Linked DNA regions of Homo sapiens: all the other regions are linked to region 2. The links are contacts of gene promoters, found by promoter capture Hi-C in human tissues and cell types (Jung and others, 2019). All regions are on one chromosome and are shown on one strand. The core of a region is centred on a gene start or on the middle of the fragment in contact, and the rest is flanking DNA. Distances in the headings are between cores, read along the strand shown.

Region 1 (2,700 bases), core at 48-2,547, 80 kb before region 2:
AAAAACAAAGAGTAGGCCCAGATGCCTTCAGGGTGATTTCTACCAAGCATGTAAGAAATAAATACACAATTTTATATAAACTATTTCAGAAAATGGAGGAGGGAACACTTTTCAATTCATTTATGAAGCCTTATCAAAATGTTAGCAAATCGAATTCGGTAATATATAAAAAGGATAATACATTATGAGCAAGCAGGGTTTATCCCAAGAATGCAAAAATTGGTTTAATATTCAAAATTCAGTCAATGTAACTTTTCACATTAACATTACAATAAGACAGGAAAGAGAACTAAGAGCTATAAGGATTAGAAAAGAAGTAAAATTGTCACTATTCATAAACAACATGAAAATCCTAAGGGATCACCAAAAATCTGCTTGATTTAAAAAGCAAATTCAGCAAGTTCTCAGGATGGAATATCAACATATAAAAGTCAGTTGTATTTTTATACACTTGCAACGAATAATTGAAAAATAAAACAATGACATTTGCAATAGCATAAAAAACAACAATTATCTAGGAATAAATCTAAGAAATAGTAAAAGACCTCAACATCCAAAGCTACAAAACATTACTAAGAGACTTTTTATTTTATTATTTCTTTTCTTCCTTTTTTAAAAAATATGGAATGCTTCACAAATTTGCATATCATTTTTGTGCAAGGGCCATGCTAATATTCTCTGTATTGTTCCAGTTTTAGTATACATGCTGCCAAAGTGAGCACTAAGAGAAATTTTTAAAGGCCTAGGTAAATGAATAGATATATCATGTAATGTATTAGAAGAATATCTGCTTTTGTGAAGTGTTCAAGTCTTTGGCTCACTTTTTATTAGGTTATTTGTCTTTATTCACTTTATTATTTCAGAAGCCAATAAGCTAAGCCATAATAGTCTAATAATAAGCTAAGCCATAATAGTCATATAGAAAGTGAAAACTGAAACAACAATAAAATAATAGGTAATACCCACTAGAATGACTGAAATAAAAAAGAATAATATCAAATGCTGGCAAGGATGTGGAATGACTAGAATTCTCACATATTGCGTAGTGGACATGGAAAACGATATAGCCACTTGGAAAAACTGTTTGGCAATTTCTTGTAAATTTGCACACATTTCTATCCTCAGCTGGGTCCAAATAGAATTATATTTTTAATTTTATACTACATCCATGTATTTCATTTCCAATGGAAGTGAAAACAGGTGTGAAAAAGAAAAACAAAATGCACAAAACCTTTAGAAGAATGTTCTTGGCACCCTTACTTCACTATAGCCTAAAACTGGAAACAACCCAAGTCTATAACAAGAGAATGGATAAAAAAATGTTGGTAGAGGCATAAAATGAAGTACTACCAGCAAAAAAAAAAAAAAAAAAAAAAAAAAAAAAAAAAAAAAAAAAAAAGGGAATGAACTACTGATATATATGTAGCAGCATGAATGAATCTCAAAACATTTTGCTGAGCAAAAGAAACCAGACATGAAAAGGCTCTATATGATTCCACTTATATAAAATCTAACAACAGGGAAAACTAGTTTATGGTAGCATAACTCAGAAAATGATTTCTTGGGCCCATAGGAGATTTGTTAGAAAGACATGCAAGGAAAATTTCTGAGAGTGGATGACGGAAATAGTCTATATCTTGAGCGGGGTGGTAGTCACACAAGCTATTAGGCAACTACTAAAACTCATCCAACTGTACACTTCCCCATGCTCTGTGCATTTTATTGTATGTTAACTATACCTCAATAAAAACTAGTTTTCTCAACAGGCATCAGGTGGTCAGGAAAAAAGAAAGAAAGAAAAACTGGTTTTCAATTTTAAAAAGCAGAAAAGGGAAACTTAAGAGACATCAACTGATTGCAATCACATAAGCTTATTTGGATCCTGATTCTTATAAACACTGAAAAAAAATCAGGGAAATGTAAACACTGACTTGATATGAAATTAAGAAATTAATATTAATATTTTAGGTACAATGATGGTATGATTATGGTTTTTAAAGTCTTTATTTCTAAAGGACATACTGAAATACAGATGAAATGACATAACATATTTGCAGCAAAATAATCTATTAGAGGTAAGGGGGAGTGAATTAAAATGGACCATGAGTTGATAAATATTAACATAGAGTGATGAATGAGCACATTAAGGGGCTCTATTCTCTCTTAGTATTTGTATGAGGATTTCCAAAATTTAAAAAAGAAAAAAAGAGGTTAGACCTAGAGAATGTTAATTTTCAATTCAGTTAAATAAGCTTTTTTGAGCATCTATTGCACACTAAGTTCTGTGTCTATGCCTGTACCTACAGCTTTGGTCACAGTAAAACACACAACTGACACTCTAGTCATCAAAACACCTTCACTTTCATTCTAATTTACTCTCAGGGAGTGGTTTGAGCCTGATAAGAACAGAATGCTTGATTTCTTCACAGATTAAAGTCAGTCCTCTGGTAATTCCCAGAACTGCATTTTAAAACCATAATATGTTCAATTACACTTAAGTCCTAAATAGGTAACTCATGAAGTTTATAACTCAGTTCTCGACAAATGAGATGATCCACTTGTGATGTTGGTAATACCGATGTGGAACATGCCCAGAATTCAGAGTTCAAGAGCACCTTACACATGAAGTTCCTCTTGGTAATAATATTGTTCACTTCAGAAACAGGTGGTAACTACTGTCATGTCTATCATAAAATCAAG
Region 2 (2,733 bases), core at 90-2,589:
TGACTAAAATGTAAGCATCTCAGACCAAGTATTTCCAGTCTGGGCATGGTGGCTCACCCCTGTAATCCCAGCACTTTGGGAGGCCAAGCCAAGAGGACTGCTTGAGTCCAGAAGTTTGATACCAGCCTGGGCAATATAGCAAGATCCCATCTCTACAAATAATAATAATAATAATAATAATAATAATAATAATAATAAAAGAGCTGGGTGTGGTGGTGCATGCCTGTAGCCCTAGCTACTTGGGAGGCTGAGGTGGGAGGCTCACTTTAGCCCAGGAATTGAAGGCTGTGAATATTTTCAAATAATTAATTAATACTATTATTGCCTTTCTCGTTTGGCTCCCAGAACAGTACCTGGTCCACAGAGGACTCTCAAGAAATAGTTGCTGAATGAATGAATGAATGTAAAATGGGGTAAATAATTATATTTTTAAATTATTTTTTAAAATTGTACATATATGTATATATAACTGTACAATTTAACAACATGCTATGTGTAGACATTAAAGTGATGGGAAAAACACCAAACATTAACAGCGGTTGTGCATGAAATTAAAAGATTTTTCTTAAAACTCCTTCTCTATTTTTCAATTTTATTTACAGCGTAGTGGTTAAGAATACCAAAATTTAGAGTCTGAGTGAAGACTGCCAGTTACCAGCTGCACAACCTTGGTTTCCTCTTGTGTCAAATTGGCTTAAAAATATACACAGTACCGGCCAGGCGCGGTGGCTCACACCTGTAATCCCAGCACTTTGGAAAACCGAGGCGGGCGGATTGCCTGAGCTCAGGAGTTCGCGACCAGCCTGGGCAACAAGGTGAAACCCCGTCTCTACTAAAATACAAAAGAATTAGCCGGGCGTGGCGGCGGGTGCCTGTAGTCCCAGCTACTTTGGACGCTGAGGCAGGAGAACTGCTTGAACCCGGGAGGCGGAGATTGTAGTGAGCCGAGATCGCGCCACTGCCCTCCAGCCTGGGAGACAGAGTGAGACTCCGTCTCAAAAAAAAAAAAAAAAAAGTATATATCTATATATAGATATATAGATAGACGCAGTACCTCCTTTGTATTAACATCCCTAATAAGCTTTACTGTGAAATTATGGATGAAAGGATCTTTGCACGATGCAGGTACGTAGTGAGGGACAGTAATGTTAGTTGATAACGATTACAGGTATGTTTTATTTTATAATGAAAATACATTTGTCTTCTAAACCTTTACCGAAGGGAGTGAAAAGAACACCTCACCCAAACGCCCGCCCTTATGTGCGCAGCCCCGCCTCCTGTAGGCCCCACCCCACCAAAGGGTGCGCCTGCGCCGTTCTTTTTTCCGTCCACGTGACCCACTCAGGCTCCTCCTTGTCTCCAACATGGCGGCGCCCAGGGGCTCAAGCCGCACGTGAGAAAGTCTGGGCATCTGGGAATCGGAGAGTATAGCCTGTGAGCCGCTTTCCCCTCCTTACTGTCGGTTGCATCCCTTCGACACTCCCGAGGCCGTCGCGGGCCACTGGCCCTCTGCAGCCATGAAGACAAAGCCCGTTTCCCACAAGACCGAGAACACCTACCGGGTGAGCGCGGGAGCTTAGGCAGGGAGCCGCGGGTCTCCGCTGCCTCAGTCGTGAGACAGGCTCTGAGCGAGACTCCAGGGGCCTCAGACTTCTGGGCCGAGTGTGTCACTTTCCTGGAGGCTCCGGCGAAAGAGGGAGACACTGGATGTAGTAAACATGGGTTGGAGGAGGAAAGAAGTGTGGACAGCAAGTTTCACCCATGTTTTATGGGGTCTGGCCAGTCCTGGGAATTTCCTGTAGTCCAGAATTAAATTCACTATTCCAGGAGATTGCTTAGGACCAATTCTCCCCTGCTCTTTTATCTTTAAAGACCGAATTGGGCGAGTCGGCTGGCGGTGAGTGATTCCCAGCTAAGGGCAAATATACAGCGCTTTCTCTGTTTGCCCCTTGATAGATTGTTTCCAGGTCTTCCTTAGGATACAATCATAGGTCTGTATATGTTTAAAAACACTTTTATTGCAGCGACTTTGCTAGGTCCCCATGCTTATGGGAGGGTATGAAACCTAATAGATCTAGCGAGACTAATTGCCAGCATCCACCTAGGCTCACCAGTCTGGCAATGGAAATTTTATTTGAAATGACATAGCTGAGAGAAATTATGCAAACATAGAAGTATTCATTATCTTTGAACAGTGATGCAGTAAATTTGTTTACGGCCGTATGTTTTTCAGTTTATTTTTCCACTTATCCTTTGTGATTAGAGATGCCTACATGCAGCATTCAAATAGATATTAAAGATCTGATAAATTTTAATTAATTATGTATCTTAAATATACTTTCCCTTCCAGTTTCTTACATTTGCTGAACGACTGGGGAATGTTAATATTGATATTATTCACCGGATTGATAGAACTGCAAGCTATGAGGAGGTAAGAGAATGTGATACTAGTCAATCTTCAAGTGTTCATGGTGTTTTAGTTTCTTCTGTTAGTAGAAGTGAATTGTTTTTCAAGGTATTCCTTTTTGGACATGAAATGCTTTAGACCTGTGCTGTTTCATACAGTAGCCACATATGACAAATTGGATTTAAAGTAAATTAAAAATTTGGGTGCCCAAATGTGGCTAGTTGCTAACATATTGAATAAATATAGAATTGGAACATTTTCATCTTTGCAGAAAGTTCTGTTGGGTGAAGCTCTATTAGACAATTGACTTGACTTTCAGCTGTCTT
Region 3 (2,700 bases), core at 114-2,613, 92 kb after region 2:
CCAGAAATCGATGAGGTCATGCGGAAAGTATCCAAGTTGGCAGTCTCTGCACAAAGCGAACCTGCCAGGGTCCAGTGTAGACAGGTTTGTAGAGAGCACTTATCCCCATAGCAAGGGCTGGGCCCTGCCGCATCTTTGTGGCAGAGGTGTCAACACTGGCTGAATTCTGAAGACCACCTTGTGTCGTATTGTTGCTTTATGCTGAGACTTGGGCGTCCTGGTGCAGGTGGTCAGGGGAGGCTTTTTCTGGGGACTGACAGGCAGGCCAAAATTTGAAGGAAGAAAAAGGCTTAGCTTTCAAGGTGAGGGGGCAGTAGAGGCTTGAGGTGAGTGAGAGCTTAGCTTGGTTGAGGAGCTCAACACAGGTAAGTGAATTGAGGGGTGGGGAGCCAGGTTGGGCAGGACCTTGTGGTCTTGTTAAAGATTTGGGGCTTTGTTCTTTTTTTTTTTTTTTTTTTTTTTTTTGAGACGGAGTCTCACTCTGTCACCAGGCTGGAGTGGTGCAGTGGCGCGATCTCGGCTCACTGCCACCTCCACCTCCCAGGTTCAAGTGATTCTCCTGCCTCAGCCTCCTGAGTAGCTGGGACTACAGGCATGCACCACCACACCCAGCTAATTTTTGTATTTTTAGTAGAGATGAGGTTTCACCATGTTGGCCAGGATGGTCTTGATCTCTTGACCTTGTGATCCACCCACCTTGGCCTCCCAAAGTGCTGGGATTACAGGCGTGAGCCATGGTGCCTGGTGGGGCTTTGTTCTAAGAATAGCAAGGAGCTATTTAAATCCTTAGGGAGAGGAGTGACAGGATCAGGTTTATATCTATACATCTGTCAATCTCTAATTTTATGAACACATACTGTGCCCAAAGAGGTGGAAAGGTCTAAGTTGGAAATAGGAACTCAGGGTTGCAGGTGGGTTTGGGCTGCTGAGGAGGCCAGGGTGGAAGGCAAGATGCATGTCTCTGGAAATAATTGCTTGGCCACTATTAGGAAGAAGAAGGGTCAGCTGCTATTAAGCACTAGCTGTGTGCCTAGCACTTTAAATGCATGACCTCTGTTTACAGGTACCCTTCAGAAGAAACGGTATCCCCATTTTACCGCGAGGGAAAGGCAGGCTTGGAAACTTGAATGATGTCGCCTAGTTCTCACAGTTTATTAATAAAGGAGGCTAGATACCATAGTGGTTTGAAAGTGCAGCCTTTGGACACAGACTAGGCATGGAATTCTGGCAGTGTCACATGAACAAGTTTCTTATTGTCTCGGCCAACTTCATTCCCTTCAACTAGAAAATGGGCTATTATCACGAACTTCTTAAGGGAATGATGAGATTTAACTGAGAAACACTTAACGCAGTGCTTGGCACATAGAGGGTTTTTAGTAAATGCATTAGTTATTATTATCAGTATTGATATTATCACTGTGTTGTTATTCTTGTTGAAGGGGAGATACCAGATTGGACCACAGTCCATACTGTGGTACACCTGTCACCACCTGTCACAGAGAGATCAGCTTCCAACCTGTGGGCTTAGATTTGTAGTCTTAAACCACAGTGCCAGTGGCAGGCCAGGGCTTGCCTCTGTCAGGCACATAGGGCAGGACCAGATGAATGGTGGGAGAAATGAAGGGTCACAGTTGCTATTGACTTCATAGGCAGATTTAGCTGGAGTGCATTGGAAAGCCTGATTGATTGCCATTCTGTAAAGTTTTTATAACCTACCAGTGAGTTCCAGAAAGCAGCTTAGGAAACAGGAATACTAGAGGTGAGATCCAAATAATCATCTGTGTGACTTTTGTTCCTAGGTTTTTCTGAAATATATTCTTGACTATCCCCTGGGTGACAAATTGAGACCAAACTTGGAATTCATGCTCGCTCAACTGAAGTAAGCTTAAGCTATTAACTACACAGGGGCGGAGGGTAGTTTCTTCTTTCCCTTTAACATGGCGGCTGTCTTAAAAAGGATGGGGCCTAAGTATAATGGTACATTCTCTGAGCATACTGTTATATGACTCATTGACTTGATAATCAGACATTGTGCTTGGCTTCATATAGCCGTTCTCTGAGTTGCTTTTCAATCTAATTTAACCGTTGATTGTCATAAGAGTCCACTTAGGAGAATGTTGAAATCTGACACACTTACATTTAAAATTGTACAGTGATAGCTTAATGGATACATACAAGCATTAAAATTAGGAAAACAGAGCATTTTCCATTTTTTTAAGAAGTAAACTGACACCTTGATACAATATTTTCATTTTTTAAATAATTATTTGTAAATTTAGAAGATACTAACAAATCCACCTAATGTCCTTCCCCTAGTTACGAACATGAGACCGGGAGAGAGTCCACCTTGGAAATGATCGCCTATCTCTTTGACACGTTCCCTCAGGTACTGTGACCCCAGAGATAAGCCCCGTGACTCCTGGAAGTCCTCAGTCCCCCTTTGCTAGAGCATCTGTAGGAATTCCACTCTGAGTGCTCACACGTGCCTCTTTTCTTTTAGGGGCTGCTCCATGAGAACTGCGGAATGTTCTTTATCCCTCTTTGTCTAATGACGATCAATGATGACTCTGCCACGTGCAAAAAGATGGCATCCATGACAATCAAGTCCCTACTTGGTAAAATCAGCCTCGAGAAAAAAGATTGGCTGTTTGATATGGTTACCACTTGGTTTGGAGCAAAAAAGGTGTGCGTTGCTTTTAG
Region 4 (2,703 bases), core at 92-2,591, 120 kb before region 2:
ACCTGGGTTACTGCAATAGCCTCTTCCCTGCCCTCGTTCCCCTACAGACTATTCTCAAAATTGGATCAGAGCACTCCTTTGAGAATTATTGGAAAAGTAAGTGAAAAAATATCTCACATAGTAGACCTAAAAGACACGGAGAGGAAAAATAAGAGAGAAAAAAACGAGAAAATTAGAGGAACTGTCCATGATTCTGATTCAAATGTTTGACTAATAGGAGTTCTCAGAGAGAGAACACAGAAAATTATTAAAAATAGAAATAAAAAGGAAGAAAAGAAAACAAAAAAGAAAATGTCCAGAACTGAAGGGCATGGATCTTCAGATTGAATGGGCCCTACTGAAGGCCTAGGCCAAGGCAGTCATTGTGAAAATGGGACACACACAAAGTGTCAGCTGGTAGCAGAGCGCTGTCACAACAGCAACATAGCAAGCTAGAAAAAAATTCAGACATCCTCTCAGAAAAAAGAAAAGTTCTTTTCAACCCTAGCAATTTCTACTCAAACAATCAATCAAGCATAAGATAGATTAAATAATTTTTTTTCAGACACACAAAGTTTCCAAAACCTCTTCTTTTGTCTACTCTTTCTTGAGAATATGCTATAGGATGTGTTTCATTCAATTAAGGGAGTAAATGAGAATGAGAAGTAATGAATATAGGCAGTAGAAAACCCAACACAGGAACAGGGGCTAAGAGAATTCATAGAATGAGGACAAAATGGAGTCCCAAGATAACCGTTCTATAGCAATCCCAGAGAGCAATTTATATACTATGTGTATCAATTTGATTTTTTAAAAATGAACACACTTTTTAAAAAATGATAAATATCTGAAAAAAAAGCCTCCACACTATGTTTAGATATAACCTGTGTATGCTTCTTTACAGTTCACAAAGAATGAATACTGGACCATGTAAAGATCACAGCATATTGGGTTATTATAAAAATATGTGTAAAATCCCTAACATCATAGCAGTTATGAAGTTCTTTTCAAGCATCTTATTTTTGTCTTACAGCAACTTGTGAGATGGGCAGGTCGATTATTATTGTCCTCATTTTATACATAAGAAAGCTGAGGCTCAGTGTAGCTATGTGACTTGCCCAAGTTCATGCAGCCCCTAAAGGGCAGAACCAAGATTCAAATAGAAATGAGTCTTCTGCTTTCAAGTCTAGGCCTTCAGATTTCCCATGAGTAAAACAGAAGAAATAATTAAACTAGTTGGCAATAGGATCATAGTAAAATAACATAAATAGCTATAAAACAGATACAGTAAAAACTGATATAGAGGTAAATACAACAATACTAATGTTTAGATAGTTACCTGTTGATAAACTGACAAGTATCCCCACTAATAATGTTACCAAAGTTCCAACAGTGCTGAAGTACAGATATGATAAAGAATACCAGTTATCCATCAGTGGAGTCCTAAGAGAGCAAAAACACAACGGTAAGATTTCATGTAATGCCACTAGCAACTACCAGTATATACCAGTGATTCCCATGGCAAGGTCAAAATATAACACTTAATAATGTTTTTAATGTCATAACCTGCTGTCCTAATTTTATCTTATCAGATCAGGAATTGAAAGCAAAACTTCACCTTGACTATATACTAAAATACTTGAAGGTCATGTTTATTCATTCAATTCTGCATGATGTCCCAGGCACTGCTCTTGTGATTGGACAGTCAGCCATAAATAAGGTAGATAAACCATTTGACCCAGCAATCCCACTACTGGGTATACATCCAAAGGAAAATAAATTGTTCTACCAAAAAGACACGTGCACTTATATGTTCATCGCAGCACTATTCCCAACAGCAAAGACATGCAATCAACCTAGGTGCCCATCAATGGTGGACTGGATAAAGAAAATGTGGTACATATACACCATGGAATACCATGCAGCCATGAAAAAAGAACAAAATCATGTCCTTTTCAGCAACATGGATGCAGCTGGAGGCCATTATCCAAGCAAATTAATGCAGGCACAGAAAACCAAATACCACATGTTCTCACTTATAAGTAGGAGCTAAATGTTGGTTACTTATGGACACAAAGAAGGGAACAATAGACACTGGGGACTACCAGAGGGTGAAGGGAGACAGGCAAGAGTTTACCCAAGTAAGAAACCTGCACAGGTATCTAAAATAAAAGTTGAAATTATTTTTTAAAAATAAAGTAGATAAGATTCCTGCTAACATATAGTTTATACTCTAATGGAGAGATAAATACAATAAACAAATTAATAAATATAATAATTTCCACTAGTAGAAAGTGCTGTAAGGAAAGTAAAACAAGATGATGTGCTATTAACAGGGTGAAGAGGGAGGAACTACACTACAAGTGGTCAGAGAAAACCTTTGGGAATAAATGACATTTGAACTGAGATCTGAGAAACAAAATGTTCTTGAGGAAAACAGAGACTAAACACCAGCTGACTGAGGCACAGTGAGCAAGACAGTGATTACAAGATGAAAGATAGGCAGGGGGCTTTTTGTGGGACCAGGCATGAGTTGGAATTTTACTCTACAGGCAATGGCACTCATTGCAATGTTTTAAGTGAAAGAGTAACATGAACATTCTATGATCATTTCTACAATGATTGCTCTAGGATTCCACTTTCAGTTTTGATAGCTGCTTGATTTAGAACAATCATTCTGCTGAGAACAATATATAAAACCTGGGGCATGGGGAGGGAGGCAGG

Evidence for each region. Contacts are between HindIII fragments. The study calls those that stand out against the background at their distance.
Region 1: a fragment that was not itself captured here is called in contact with the fragment with the promoter of UTP20 in region 2 in 3 of the 25 tissues and cell types used here (mesenchymal stem cells, mesendoderm cells and thymus).
Region 3: a contact is called between a fragment that was not itself captured here and the fragment with the promoter of UTP20 in region 2, in 3 of the 25 tissues and cell types used here (H1 embryonic stem cells, mesendoderm cells and thymus).
Region 4: a contact is called between a fragment that was not itself captured here and the fragment with the promoter of UTP20 in region 2, in 2 of the 25 tissues and cell types used here (adrenal gland and mesendoderm cells).

Annotation. Positions count from the first base shown.
Region 1 is chr12:101,198,656-101,201,355 of GRCh38, forward strand. All of the region lies in intron 3 of SLC5A8 (solute carrier family 5 member 8), which reads right to left. It also overlaps the pseudogene RNU6-768P. Among named protein-coding and RNA genes, the nearest start is that of SLC5A8, 10 kb to the right of the region's middle. The HindIII fragment of the contact is 7,035 bases long and covers 1-2,700 here.
Region 2 is chr12:101,278,766-101,281,498 of GRCh38, forward strand. It overlaps UTP20 (UTP20 small subunit processome component), which reads left to right and starts at 1,340. Exons shown (of 62, transcript NM_014503.3): 1 at 1,340-1,562; 2 at 2,351-2,431. The coding sequence starts at 1,518. RefSeq lists enhancers at 1,039-1,630, 1,364-1,413. The HindIII fragment of the contact is 9,089 bases long and covers 1-2,733 here.
Region 3 is chr12:101,371,085-101,373,784 of GRCh38, forward strand. It overlaps UTP20 (UTP20 small subunit processome component), which reads left to right. Exons shown (of 62, transcript NM_014503.3): 51 at 1-84; 52 at 1,800-1,879; 53 at 2,317-2,386; 54 at 2,501-2,683. Among named protein-coding and RNA genes, the nearest start is that of ARL1, 35 kb to the right of the region's middle. The HindIII fragment of the contact is 7,636 bases long and covers 1-2,700 here.
Region 4 is chr12:101,160,656-101,163,358 of GRCh38, forward strand. It overlaps SLC5A8 (solute carrier family 5 member 8), which reads right to left. Exons shown (of 15, transcript NM_145913.5): 13 at 1,319-1,422. Among named protein-coding and RNA genes, the nearest start is that of SLC5A8, 48 kb to the right of the region's middle. The HindIII fragment of the contact is 7,218 bases long and covers 1-2,703 here.